Regions from separate parts of the Homo sapiens genome. Here all the other regions are linked to region 1. The links are contacts of gene promoters, found by promoter capture Hi-C in human tissues and cell types (Jung and others, 2019). All regions are on one chromosome and are shown on one strand. Each heading gives the region's core, a stretch centred on a gene start or on the middle of the fragment in contact. The rest is flanking DNA. Distances are from core to core; before and after follow the strand shown.

The links. The method cuts DNA at HindIII sites, captures the fragments that hold promoters and counts their contacts. A contact is called where the count stands out against the background at its distance.
Region 2: a fragment that was not itself captured here is called in contact with the fragment with the promoter of PAX9 in region 1 in 2 of the 25 tissues and cell types used here (H1 embryonic stem cells and IMR-90 fibroblasts).
Region 3: a fragment that was not itself captured here is called in contact with the fragment with the promoter of PAX9 in region 1 in 1 of the 25 tissues and cell types used here (mesendoderm cells).
Region 4: a contact is called between a fragment that was not itself captured here and the fragment with the promoter of PAX9 in region 1, in 2 of the 25 tissues and cell types used here (H1 embryonic stem cells and mesendoderm cells).

The regions. Positions count from the first base shown.
Region 1 is chr14:36,660,341-36,663,470 of GRCh38, forward strand. PAX9 (paired box 9) reads left to right here and starts at 1,520. Exons shown (of 4, transcript NM_001372076.1): 1 at 1,520-1,753; 2 at 2,557-3,130. The coding sequence starts at 1,750. RefSeq lists a promoter at 254-1,451, a cis regulatory region at 711-1,223 and enhancers at 1,988-2,499, 2,500-3,009, 3,010-3,130. The HindIII fragment of the contact is 9,466 bases long and covers 1-1,604 here.
Region 2 is chr14:37,151,007-37,154,136 of GRCh38, forward strand. The region is part of intron 1 of SLC25A21 (solute carrier family 25 member 21); the gene reads right to left. Among named protein-coding and RNA genes, the nearest start is that of SLC25A21-AS1, 19 kb to the right of the region's middle. The HindIII fragment of the contact is 4,167 bases long and covers 1-3,130 here.
Region 3 is chr14:37,027,604-37,030,733 of GRCh38, forward strand. All of the region lies in intron 1 of SLC25A21 (solute carrier family 25 member 21), which reads right to left. Among named protein-coding and RNA genes, the nearest start is that of MIR4503, 77 kb to the left of the region's middle. The HindIII fragment of the contact is 8,550 bases long and covers 1-3,130 here.
Region 4 is chr14:36,938,087-36,941,216 of GRCh38, forward strand. All of the region lies in intron 1 of SLC25A21 (solute carrier family 25 member 21), which reads right to left. Among named protein-coding and RNA genes, the nearest start is that of MIR4503, 13 kb to the right of the region's middle. The HindIII fragment of the contact is 4,308 bases long and covers 1-3,130 here.

The sequences.
Region 1 (3,130 bases), core at 270-2,769:
CCAACAAAAAGGGACAAGTTCAAGTATGTCTAGTTGTGGGATTTCCCCCAAGATTCCGATTCTAAAGAGTGGTGTTTTAGTTCATCTTTACCTTTCACATCCTCCATTCTGTTAGGTAATTTTGAATTTAGAGTGCATCCTAACCATAGAAGTGGGAATCTGGAGATCTGTTCCTTTGCAGAAGCATGGCTGATCATAGTTTTTTCCTGGGTTCTTGCAACTTACTGACCTGAGATCTGGGACCAGTCAGCTTCTCTGGGTGTAGACCGCAGCCACACACATCCCTGGGGACTGTTGGGGAAGCAGCCTGAATCCTGTGTGCACAAGGAGCCTTCTGGATTGTCAAGTAGCAGTAACAGAGTTCACGACCCCAAGCAGTACAAACTCCCAAATTCACGAAAATATTTCTCTTCTTGTTTATTATTTTGATTCACATTCTCCACAACCCTAACTGCAAATATTAATAACTTTGGCTGCAAAAAAGCATACGGTACACTTTAGATTAGACTTACAGTGAATAAAAGTGAAAATTCAGAAGTAGGCAGAACGACAGGGCCTCTGGAGCTTAATGGAAGACGAGGGAATTACATCCATGTGCAGCGTCGGTGTCCACTGTCTTGGGACTAAGTCTCTTTCATATTTAAACAAAACTCTTTCGAGAGGGCTCGCTGGTTTGGAGAACCCTCACAAACGCTGCCACCGAGGGCCAGGGGCCCAGGACAGTGGCTGAATGTGGCAGAGCCTTGGGCTCCGTAGTGAGTGCCCCACGCACTGGCAATTGGTCGACTTGGGGCTGTGCGCTAGCGTTAGCCGCCTGTGGTTCAGTTCCCCGCACACGGCGTGGCCCGTGCCTCGAGCCTGTGTGGCTAGTGGTTGGCCGGTCCACCTGGACTGGGGGGTCGCCGCAGGAAGCTGGCGGTAGGAGGAACCTCCCTGGCCTTAACAGTGGCCCCCACCTGTGGCTCGGGCTCCCCGCAACCTCCTGGTTTCTTTGGCCGGCCTATCTTCTCACACCTGCGCTCTCGCCACCTGGCATGGACTGAAGTGAGGTAGAATCGGCAGGTGACACAGATCCTCTCCTGACAGTCCCCAGAGGCCCGCATGACAGATTTTGCTAAGACAACTCCCTCACCCCTGTGCACGGTGGCGCCCGCCTCCCACCTATAGCCTTAACTTCAATTCTGAGATGTCCATCGTTCCCCGGAGGAGGTCTCCTCGGGCCCCTTCTCCCTTCGAGTCATTCACATTCAGACCAAACGCTTTCATTTGTTTATTCAGCATTTTACCAGCCTGATTTTGCTGTCTTTTTGTGCCGCTTCTGGGAAGATGTCAAACACCCATTTTCATTGTATTTAGTCACCCAGGTGGGGAGCTAGCCTGAAAGAGACAGCGGAAGGAGTTTCCTGGACTGCGCTGTCGCTCACCGACCCGCACCAATCACCATGCAGCTTGCCCTCGGACCCGCCCCTTTTAGGGCGTGTCCCCAGTGAGTGATAGACGGAGCCGCCCTGCCCTGCTCAGCCCAGCCCACGTTGCTGCTTAGATTGAAATGCAGAACTCAAGCCTCTTTCATCGGGGCACAGACTTCCTTTTACTTCTTCCTTTTGCCCTCTCGCCTCCTCCTCCTGGGAAGAAGCGGAGGCGCCGGCGGTCGGCCGGGATAGCAACAGGCCGGGCCACTGAGGCGGTGCGGAAAGTTTCTGTCTGGGAGTGCGGAACTGGGGCCGGGTTGGTGTACTGCTCGGAGCAATGGGTGAGTGGCGGCGGGGGACTCTGTCAGAGCCGGGAAGGGAGGGAGGGAGCGAGCGGGCAAGGGAGGGAGGGAGGGAGGGAGCGCGAGGGCGCGCGCCACTAGGCGCTCACATTCTCTATTGACTTTGCTCGTGTTCCTACAAGTTGTAGGAACACGCTAAGGGTCAGCGGCGCACAGCAGTTCAATGTGAACGCTGGCTACTGGGTGGCTGTTGATGCCATTTTCTGATTTTAAGAGAAGGGAGCTGTGGCATCAGCGAGCCCCTCAGCCCGAGTAGCAAACCAAGTTTTGTTTCACACGCGCGCACACATGCAAACAAAACAGGAAAAGAAAAGAAAAGAAAACAAACAACAACAAATAAAACACCCTCTAGCTTCCCCTAGACTTTGTTTAACTGGCCGGGTCTCCAGAAGGAACGCTGGGGATGGGATGGGTGGAGAGAGGGAGCGGCTCAAGGACTTTAGTGAGGAGCAGGCGAGAAGGAGCACGTTCAGGCGTCAAGACCGATTTCTCCCCCTGCTTCGGGAGACTTTTGAACGCTCGGAGAGGCCCGGCATCTCACCACTTTACTTGGCCGTAGGGGCCTCCGGCACGGCAGGAATGAGGGAGGGGGTCCGATTGGACAGTGACGGTTTGGGGCCGTTCGGCTATGTTCAGGGACCATATGGTTTGGGGACAGCCCCAGTAGTTAGTAGGGGACGGGTGCGTTCGCCCAGTCCCCGGATGCGTAGGGAGGCCCAGTGGCAGGCAGCTGTCCCAAGCAGCGGGTGCGCGTCCCTGCGCGCTGTGTGTTCATTTTGCAGAGCCAGCCTTCGGGGAGGTGAACCAGCTGGGAGGAGTGTTCGTGAACGGGAGGCCGCTGCCCAACGCCATCCGGCTTCGCATCGTGGAACTGGCCCAACTGGGCATCCGACCGTGTGACATCAGCCGCCAGCTACGGGTCTCGCACGGCTGCGTCAGCAAGATCCTGGCGCGATACAACGAGACGGGCTCGATCTTGCCAGGAGCCATCGGGGGCAGCAAGCCCCGGGTCACTACCCCCACCGTGGTGAAACACATCCGGACCTACAAGCAGAGAGACCCCGGCATCTTCGCCTGGGAGATCCGGGACCGCCTGCTGGCGGACGGCGTGTGCGACAAGTACAATGTGCCCTCCGTGAGCTCCATCAGCCGCATTCTGCGCAACAAGATCGGCAACTTGGCCCAGCAGGGTCATTACGACTCATACAAGCAGCACCAGCCGACGCCGCAGCCAGCGCTGCCCTACAACCACATCTACTCGTACCCCAGCCCTATCACGGCGGCGGCCGCCAAGGTGCCCACGCCACCCGGGGTGCCTGCCATCCCCGGTTCGGTGGCCATGCCGCGCACCTGGCC
Region 2 (3,130 bases), core at 293-2,792, 490 kb after region 1:
CACATTGGTAGGTTCTCTCTCTCTCTCTCTCTTTCTCTTCATTCTGCAAAATTACTTTGGGCCATGATTCTATTTTAGGTGTCATCCAATTCTATCGAGTTCTATTGAATTTCATTCTTCTTTCTCCAAAGAGGAGGCTATACGTTCTCCCTACAGTAGTCTATTCTAGTTTTTACAGACATTAAATTACATGCGACTTAAGATTCCCTCCTTTTTCAGACAGGCCCCTCCTGTCCACTCTTGGGTTGCTCTCACTCTACTGAGTCACACCAGTATCTTATTAGTTGTGTGCGAATTCAGTTAACAATACGTGAGGGTGGAGGCTTGGCCCACTTCCTGACCAATTGCCTGTAGCATCTGGCAGAAAAAAAGATGCCGCATTAATGCCAACAGAGGCACTGCTGGTTAATATGGAGAATTTCATACTTAAGCTATGGCTGGCATTTAAAAATCTGCAAAAACAAGAAATGGACTTTTGTACAAGGGCAGACCCTGTTTGTTCATTAACACTCAAGTTCAAGAAAAAGCTGTGGTATTTAACATAACCAGAGAGAAAAAGAAGACTTATGGGGGCAATACTTGAAGGGGCTGCTTACCTGATTTCTCATTCTGCACACTAAGAGGCAGGGTGGAGTAATGGATGAGAGCTCAAGCTTTGAAAGCAAAGAGCAGAGTTTGAGTCTGTGTCTGTCATCAGCCTTGAACAAGATATTTAATTTCTCTGAGCTTCACTTTCCTCATCTTCAAGAAATTACAAATTGGCTCATGCCTGGAATCCAGCACTTTGGGAGGCCAAGGCGGGCAGATCACTTGAGGTCAGGAGTTCAAGACGAGCCTGGCCAACATAGTGAAACCCTGTCTCTACTAAAAATACAAATATTAGCTGGGCAGGGTGGCATGTGCCTGTAATCCCAGCTACTTTGGAGGCTGAGGCAAGAGAGACGCTTGAACCCAGGAGAAGGGGTTTGCAGTGAGCCGAGGTCACTTCACTGCACTCCAGTGTGGGCGACAGAGAGAAACCCCATCTCAAAAATAATAATAATAATAGAGATTATTTAAGCAAAGTAAGATGCTTTGCACATAGTAAGCATTCAGTAAATGTTAGCACTCAAAAGATAAGATTTATCTTACTTTTTAAAATCTTATCATACTTATTGACTATGATAGTTAGGAAGGATCTACCCAACCCAAACAAATATCCCAGGAAGTTCATTGTGACTTCTAAAGATGACAAAAAGAATGAATGAAAAGACTGAACTCAAAATAGAAATGAGAAAATGATAATTTGTTTGAAGGTCTGATATTAGTTTCAAAATATATCTCTGAAACATCTTTGAAAACCATTAGCGTCCACTGACTCTCAATTTCATTTTATTTCAATTTTTTTTTTTTTTTGACAGAGTCTCGCTCTCTCACCCAGACTGAAGTGCAGTGGCACAATCTCAGCTCACTGCAACCTCTGCTCCGGGTTCAAGCAATTCTCCTGCTTCAGCCTCCTGACTAGCTGGGACTACAGGCGCCTGCCACCATGCCCAGTTAATTTCATTTTATTTCTGCTATATACCTTAAAAATGTGAGCCTGCAGAGCGCAGAGAAGTCAGAAACACAGTTCTGGAAGTCACCTGCAAACAGACAACACTGAAGCCAAAGAGTGGATGGGTTTGTTTGGGGAGTTAGAATGTGTAAAACACAAGAAGAAAAAAACTAAATAAAATGAATTTAAAATAAATTTTTAAAAGACTGTGTAAAGCAAAAAACTTACAAACATGTAGAATATCAATTTTTGAGGAAAGGGAAAGTGGAGACAATAGAAGACTAATCAAATAGGGGAGAAAGGTTCAAGATGGTTGAGTAGGATTTTCTGGCTCTACTTAGAAGAACTGGAATAGTATATAGACAGTCACACTTCAAATACGTTATCCAAGACAGAATGCTGATGCTCAACACAGAAGAGACAGGAAACACCAAAAGTGGGGAAGGAGGAAAAGAGGCAGCATCCCTGGTCAGGACTGGCTAAGAGCTGGGAGTGACTTCCTAACATGAGGAAAGGGTGAGTGACAGACTTCCAGCAGCCCACATCCCCACCATCAGATCATGCAATCCTAGCCACAGGAGAGCCCCTTGACCATCCCAAGCCCTGAAACTAACACAGGAAGTTGATGGGAGACGAAGGGACAGGGCTGCTCCAGGGAGGGAGCTCCCACACCATTTATAAGACCTAAGAAGCTACAGGAAGGTGCCATTTTCAAAGCTAGCCTCTCATAAACTGCACACTGTCCTTCAGGCCAGCAGCACCAAGACTGAGACATTACAAAAGCTCAAGTTATCACTGCTGGAATGAGGAGTAAGATGGGAGCATTCCCACAGCCAGGGATAAGAAGCAAGCAAGACATGAGCTGCAGCAGCCAGTGCCAGGAAGCGGGTGCTGTCAGGACAGAGACTGGCATGTAAGTGAGCAGAATGAGTTGCTGGTGGGACTTGGTTGCGAGTTGGGTGGGTGCTCCTACAGCTGGGGTGGGGGAACAAGCTAAGCATCAGCTACCACTGCCAGGGTAGGGGGTGAACCCCCAGGACTGGGGCTAGAAAGAAACGTGCATTCCCTACCCACTGGCCCAGGCTGTTGCCACAAAGACAGCAGCTCCCTCTCCAGTGGTGGGGCCTCAGCATGGCTGCTACTGTCTCTAACACAAGCACTTAGCCTGAGGCCTAAGGATCATCCTGGCCACCACAGCTGGTGCCTGCTCTCACCACAAGCCCCACGAGCCTAGCTTCGCTCCTTCACTTCTCCCACCTTAACAGAGCACATAGCCCAGGGTCTCGACTGCTATCTCCTCAGCTGACCTATCTGCAAGCCCCACCTGCAGGACTGGAGACTTCCCCACCCAGCACATCACATCTACTGTCAACATGAACACACACCACTCAGGACCCAGAGAATCATCCCACTACAGCTTCTGCCATCATCCATGCTATACTGGCTGCCAGGTGATTGAAAACACACTCTATGACCCAGTTTACTGCTGCCATTATCAACATCTGAGCAAGCCACCTAGAGGCCCAAAAATCAGACCTCTAGTAACCACAAGTACAGGTGGCAGCATACGTCACCCTGGGGCACAAAGATAGGGAT
Region 3 (3,130 bases), core at 295-2,794, 370 kb after region 1:
CTCAACCATGCAATTTTATAGCAGGCAGCAAACAAGGCAGAGAATTCAGGGTTAAAAACTCAAGTGAAGTTTTGTCTTCTACAGTAATGAAAGCTGACTAAAAGAGTAAATCAAATGGATCTCCTAACAAAATGAAAACAGCTGTTTGGCCTGGCTTGGTCTCTGATTTAGGTTAAGTAATTATTGCTCTAGTGCGGTTCAAGGTTGTTCTGTATTAGTGAAATAAGATATCACATGAAAATCATCCAACTTTTTAATTTACTGTAGCATCAGAAATTCCACTGCATAAAAAACTCTAGAAACGTAATCTTCTAAAAACTTTACCTATAAACCTTTTCAAATACCAATTGATTCAATCTTCCAAGACATAATTACATGATACACAATTACATTATAGTAATAATCTTTAGTATCTAAACTAAGAAAACATTTTAATATTTTAACTTTAAAATGCTAAATTTTTTCAAATTTTACTGAAGTGATATATTATATCCAAATTCTTAAATAACTGTAAATATTTTTTTGTAAGGAGACGTGTGTATAAACAGCAAACAATGAAAAGCTACTTTCTGAGCCCCAAAGAAGCCTATACTTACAGTGTAAATCTTTTTTTTAATTCAACATTGGTATACCAATAGTGGTTGAGAAGAAAAAAAATTATAATGAAAAAGCACAGCAAAGCAATAGCATTGGGGAAGAGGTTTCTGTATCTAACACTAGTCAGTAAAATTATTCATGTCACTTCAAATTCTACTTCTTATTTGCTTTTCATTCTTCTATCACCATCATTAGTGTCACTTCTCTTGAATTGAAGCACTTTATTTCTGCTTCAGCTTGCCAATTATAACAAAGGACAAATCAATGGTAGGTTGGTGATGGTATCTTTTTATTGATGTTCCAGTATTTATTTTTAAATAATAAAAACCTAAAAATATTATCTGATGCAAGACAGTGAATTCCTGAAGAAAACAAGACTGTAAGTTTTGGTCACCTTTTCTGGCTGTTAACCACCATTACAACCCTGGATGGATGCTTAGATGTATGAATAAAAAATAACATTAAAGTATTTTTGAACAACAAATATTGAAATTATAGGATAACGTTTCTTCAATGGTGACATCTTTAGAGCATTTTTTAATGCACTTGGGTACATTCAACTCAGTTCCCAATGAAAGAGAGTGACAGAGAACATTACATCAGAAAATTAATATTTTGAAGAAAATTACTTAAGTGGTTTAAAGCCCAGGGAAAAGTCTCAGATGTTCTTGTTATAGCTATTATTGTTGGACACATAACATGACATATTTACCTTTCCAGTGGGATATAGTTTTGTAGGTTTCCTAAGTCTAAATAGCATTTCTCACTAGTCCTTGCCAATTATTCTAACTAGTACTTGCCAGCACATCAGAATAACAGAAACAAGAGAGTTAAATGTTTTATTCTCCAATATGTTTCCACATTATGATCTTTCTTTGGGGTCAATGTTCCTTAAATAAGTGGCTATATCATATTCAGAGTTTTGATTCAGAAATTGTCTTGTGGAACTAGATCAACAATGCACAATTTGCCTAAGGATTAGAGAGGAACTCAATGACAAGCAATATTTAAAAGGAAGGTTTAATTTTTTCCTTTCAGACAGTTAATGTAAATGCTACTAACTGAGATCTTCAAAAATGATAGAGCACATGAAGCCAGTCTACATTCTTAGCAGTCTGCAATCCAAGGAGGGTTAAAGAGGAATGGTCCTACCCCTTTGCAGACTCCATATTTCTTTTTTTCAAGAAATATAAAGCTTGCTGTTGTTACTGCATAAGTCTTTGTGAATAGGCAAATGTAATTAACTCAATTTTACAACGAAAGCTGGGCATACTCAGTGCCACTTAAACAGTGCATCTTTAATTTCTGAGTCAAAATATAAGGTCAAACTCTACTCAGTTTTCAGCAGCCATGTTTCCACCAGTAGTGTTAGCACAGTACTTACAGACAGAATCCCTCTGCTGAAAAGAGGGGATCCCTCCCTGGAAGTCACTTGTCTTACTCTGAAATACAGTTGGCCTTTCAGCAAGATAGGGAGTAGGGGCACCAACACCCCCACACAGAAGAAAACTGGTATATAGCTTTTGACGCCCCCAAAACTTAACTACTAATAGCCGACTTTTTTTTTTTTTTTTTTTTTTTTGAGACAGATCCTCACTCTGTCACCCAGGCTGGAGTGCAATGGCATGACCTCGGCTCACTCCAACCTCTGCCTTCCAGGTTCCAGTGATTCTCCTGCCTCAGCCTCCCAAGTAGCGGGGATTACAAGCGTGTGCCACCATATCTGGCTAATTTTTTTATTTTTAGTAGAGATGAGATTTCACTATGTTGTCCAGGCTGGTCTCAAACTCCTGACCTCAAGTGATCTGCCTGCCTTGGCTTCCCAAAGTGCTGGGATTACAGGCGTGAGCCACTGCACCTGGCCGAATAGCCTACTCTTGACTGGAAGCCTTACCAATAACATGAACAGTTGACTAACACTTTGTATATGTATTATATAAAGAAAAGAAAATGTTTTTAGGAAAATCATAAGAAAGAGAAAATACATTTACTTTTCATTAAGTGGAAGTAGATCATCATAAAGGTCTTTATCTTCATCATCTTTATGTTGAATAGACTGAGGAGGAAGAGGAAGAGGGGTTGGTCTTGCTGTCTCTGGGGTGGCAGGAGGCAGAAGAAAATCCACACAGAAATAGACCTGATCAATTGAAACCCGGGTCGTTTGAGGGTCAACTGTACTTCTTTTGAGTCCCTGATCTCTCTCTAGCTCTCAGTTACTCATGATATTCCTCCACCTGGGGTATCACCCCTTGAATAATCTTTTAGTTGCCACATCTTCATGAGTTCCAGCTTGGGAACAAATGTTTTCTGAATCTACACTGAAAAAGTCTTGCACCATGTACATACTTTCCATTTTTTCTGGATTAGCCTCCTAAGATATTATATACCTTGCTAGTTCCTTCTTTTTGACAGAATTCCCGGGACGAATCTAGTAGAATCTAAGAAATGAGCATCAGTGATTAATTTTTTGGTGTAAAAGGTTATGTTTGTGACCTAGCATTCAGCTTCAGAAAGAACACACTATAAAAACTGA
Region 4 (3,130 bases), core at 238-2,737, 280 kb after region 1:
AAATGGTCTGCATGTTAACCCTTGATTTAGATTGTTTTCTCAAACATACTCCCTGAACGCATGCTGTTAAGCTACATATAGAGCCCTAGTGTTGAATCCTTTCTTACTTCATCTTTCTTCGAGAAGCCTTCTCCTGGCAACACCTAGATTTCAATTTAAACAGACTCACGTATGGTAACAAATCAACTCCCCTAGGCACAGAGTGGACTGTGCCAGGCCTTTAACTAAGATTCCACAGGGGTCTACTGATCTAGGACTCTAATTAGGTGGAGTTCACTCATTGCAGGATGACACAGCTCTTCATAAGGCAAAGACCACCTTGTGCATTAATTAGGGCAAAGTTCTGTTTGAGACTCAGTCTCTGGACAGCCTTAGCAGAGCAGCAGGTTTGGTGTCCTTGTCATCTCTGTGTTACGGCCTTCTAAGTCTGCATCCCGCTGAGCCTTAGTCTATGTGCAGAATCAAATACACTTTCTTCTGCTTGGTTGATTTTGATATTTCAATACATGATAAATGATTGCCAATCAATCAGCTGGATCATTGCACAGAAAATCCAATCTGATCATCATGTTCACATCTCGTTGTTTTATTCAATTAATGAACAAACAGGACCAACCACAAAGAATTTTGGTTCCTGAACAATAACTTAGACTCATAAACTTCCCAACAGAAACCTGATGAAAACCAATCAATTTAAGGCACATGTATACAAACATGGCATATGTAATGAGTAAAACATAAATTAGTAAAAAAACAAAAACAAAAACAAAAAACTTCAGAAATCTATATTTCTTATTGCATCACTGAAATAAATCAGTCTCTAATATATTCAGATTTAACTCTCTTATGCTTACTCTTGTTCACTACTCTCAGCTTGTGTTTCTGAAAAGTTTTATGTAAACCCAAGTTCTGTAAACTGAATTGTATTTCAGATACATTAATTTATTGCTTAAATTATAAATCTGTTTGTAATTAATGAAGTCTTCTCAAACATGTCTCTGGTGCAGAGTTGGAATTTCATATAACAGCTTTACTTAAAAGGCAGGTTTTGTTGCAAAATTTTGTGTTTCCCAGCTAATTTGTAACACTCATTAGTAAACCTAAATTTGTGGTCGGACTCATCCATGAAAAAACAAAAGAAAGTCTTATTTCTGTATTCTAAAAAAAGTCGGGTTGGGGGAGCAGTTTGTGTTTCCAAATCATATAAGCTGGAGCCAGGGGTGGGGGGGGAATGTAAATACGAATTCTCTATCATGCATATTTTCTTTTGTGAGGGGTTTGACTGCAATACGATTAAATAGAATATACTCATGTGCACTGCTTGTTAAGACAGCATTTTTTTTGTTAAATGGCCATGTCAAATAAACATGATTTATGTCCCCTTTTTGTTACCCATAATCTTGTTGTCCATCTAAATCTTTGTGACATACTATCTCCAGGTTACCTGGAGCTTTGTCAAATCTCCCAGAACCCAACCTCTCTCCTTTCTCCCAACTTCTTGAAAATCTTCCTCTTGCTGTCCTATGTGAGAGAAACCTTTTATTTTTTAATGCTTTTTATATCAGAAAGACCAATGGTTTATTTGAGGGAAATGTATTTAATATTTAAATACATATAAAAATAAATGGCATACAAACCATTCTACTTACGTTTTATTAAGCTCATTAAAAGGGGATAAAATGGATTCAGAAGACACAGGAACTTAAAAATCAGCGCCATTAGAACCACTTGAGCAAAATCAAAACTGAATGAATGGAAAACATGCACAATTTTAGTCACTGCGAATGTGAACTCACAGAAATAAGAAGATCTGGTTTCTAATTGTTTCACATATCTGTTTTACATTCAGCGTTCTCCTCCACGTCATATTTGCTAAAGAGATCTTCGTCGTCAATAGCAGTCTGCAGTGTACCAGAGCAGAGTTTAAAAATCACCTTAGGTATGTACAAGCCTCCTTTCTCATGTAAGTATTATAGAATGAGAATCTAATAAAGAATGTTACGTGTATATTCTAAACTGCGTATTGCAAAGTTTCATCATTAGACTTGAACTCAGTCAACTTTAACAACGACTACCAGCAGCCCCTTTCAATTAATCTGTTCATACATTACTTTTCCATATAACTAAGCTAGTTTGGAGTTGAAAAGGAAGAAAAATGTGTTTGAAACCACTGATTCTTTTTCATTCATTTTCTTCCAAATTAAAGGAAATGACACTATGTTTATTCCAATATTTTAATAAAATTTTCTCTAAGATTTAAAAAAATATACTACTCTGAATGTAGGTTGGTATTTTTTTTAAAGGTTGCATTATAAATCAAAACTCCTAAAAATAGGAGTTTATGGTGGGATTGACAGTATTTTAACTTTAAAGGCATGAGGGTGTCCTTTTACAGAGGCCTAAATCAAATACAGAAAAAAGTGATGTGTTGCCAGGATGTTCAATGCACTTTCCTTTAATTGCCATATATAGTTAATAGCCTGGTCATTTTTTTCTAAATAAAATAAGTCAGAAAGTTGCAAGCAACTCGATTACACAATATCTTACCATGCAACGTATCAAAAACAAAGAATTTAATCGTTCTGTGGTCTGGGTTGAATTCAACACTGAAATCTTTTCATTGAACTTCACAGCAACAAAGAATTTCAGACTTTCAGATGACCATCTTTGAAGTTGGATAGAACTCTGACCATATTACGATTGTCTGATACTGAAAAAGGACAAAGTACAGAATCCAGTATTCCAACCAAGATTTGGGCTGATCTGAGAAACTGGAGAAAAGTACTGTGAAGGAATTGCAGATATAGAATGACTGGATAGGTCATTTGATCTTGCTTCTGAGACTGAACTTAAAAACCTGTTTCAGATTAAACAGCATTTCATTGCTTTCTTTTTTCTTTTTTTCACACAAAAATACTCCTACAGATTAAAAGAAACCATCAGAATGGAAGTAAAAGAATTATGCAGTATATATTATATCTACATAGGTCCGGAAAGTTCCTGAAATTTACTCAAGCTTTACTCAAAATATTGACACTATTTAGTATCAAACCAAACTCCGGGAGTACACAGAGGGCCTTCCTACAATGCATGTGATCAGGGACAGCAATGATCTTATCCCATAATATAT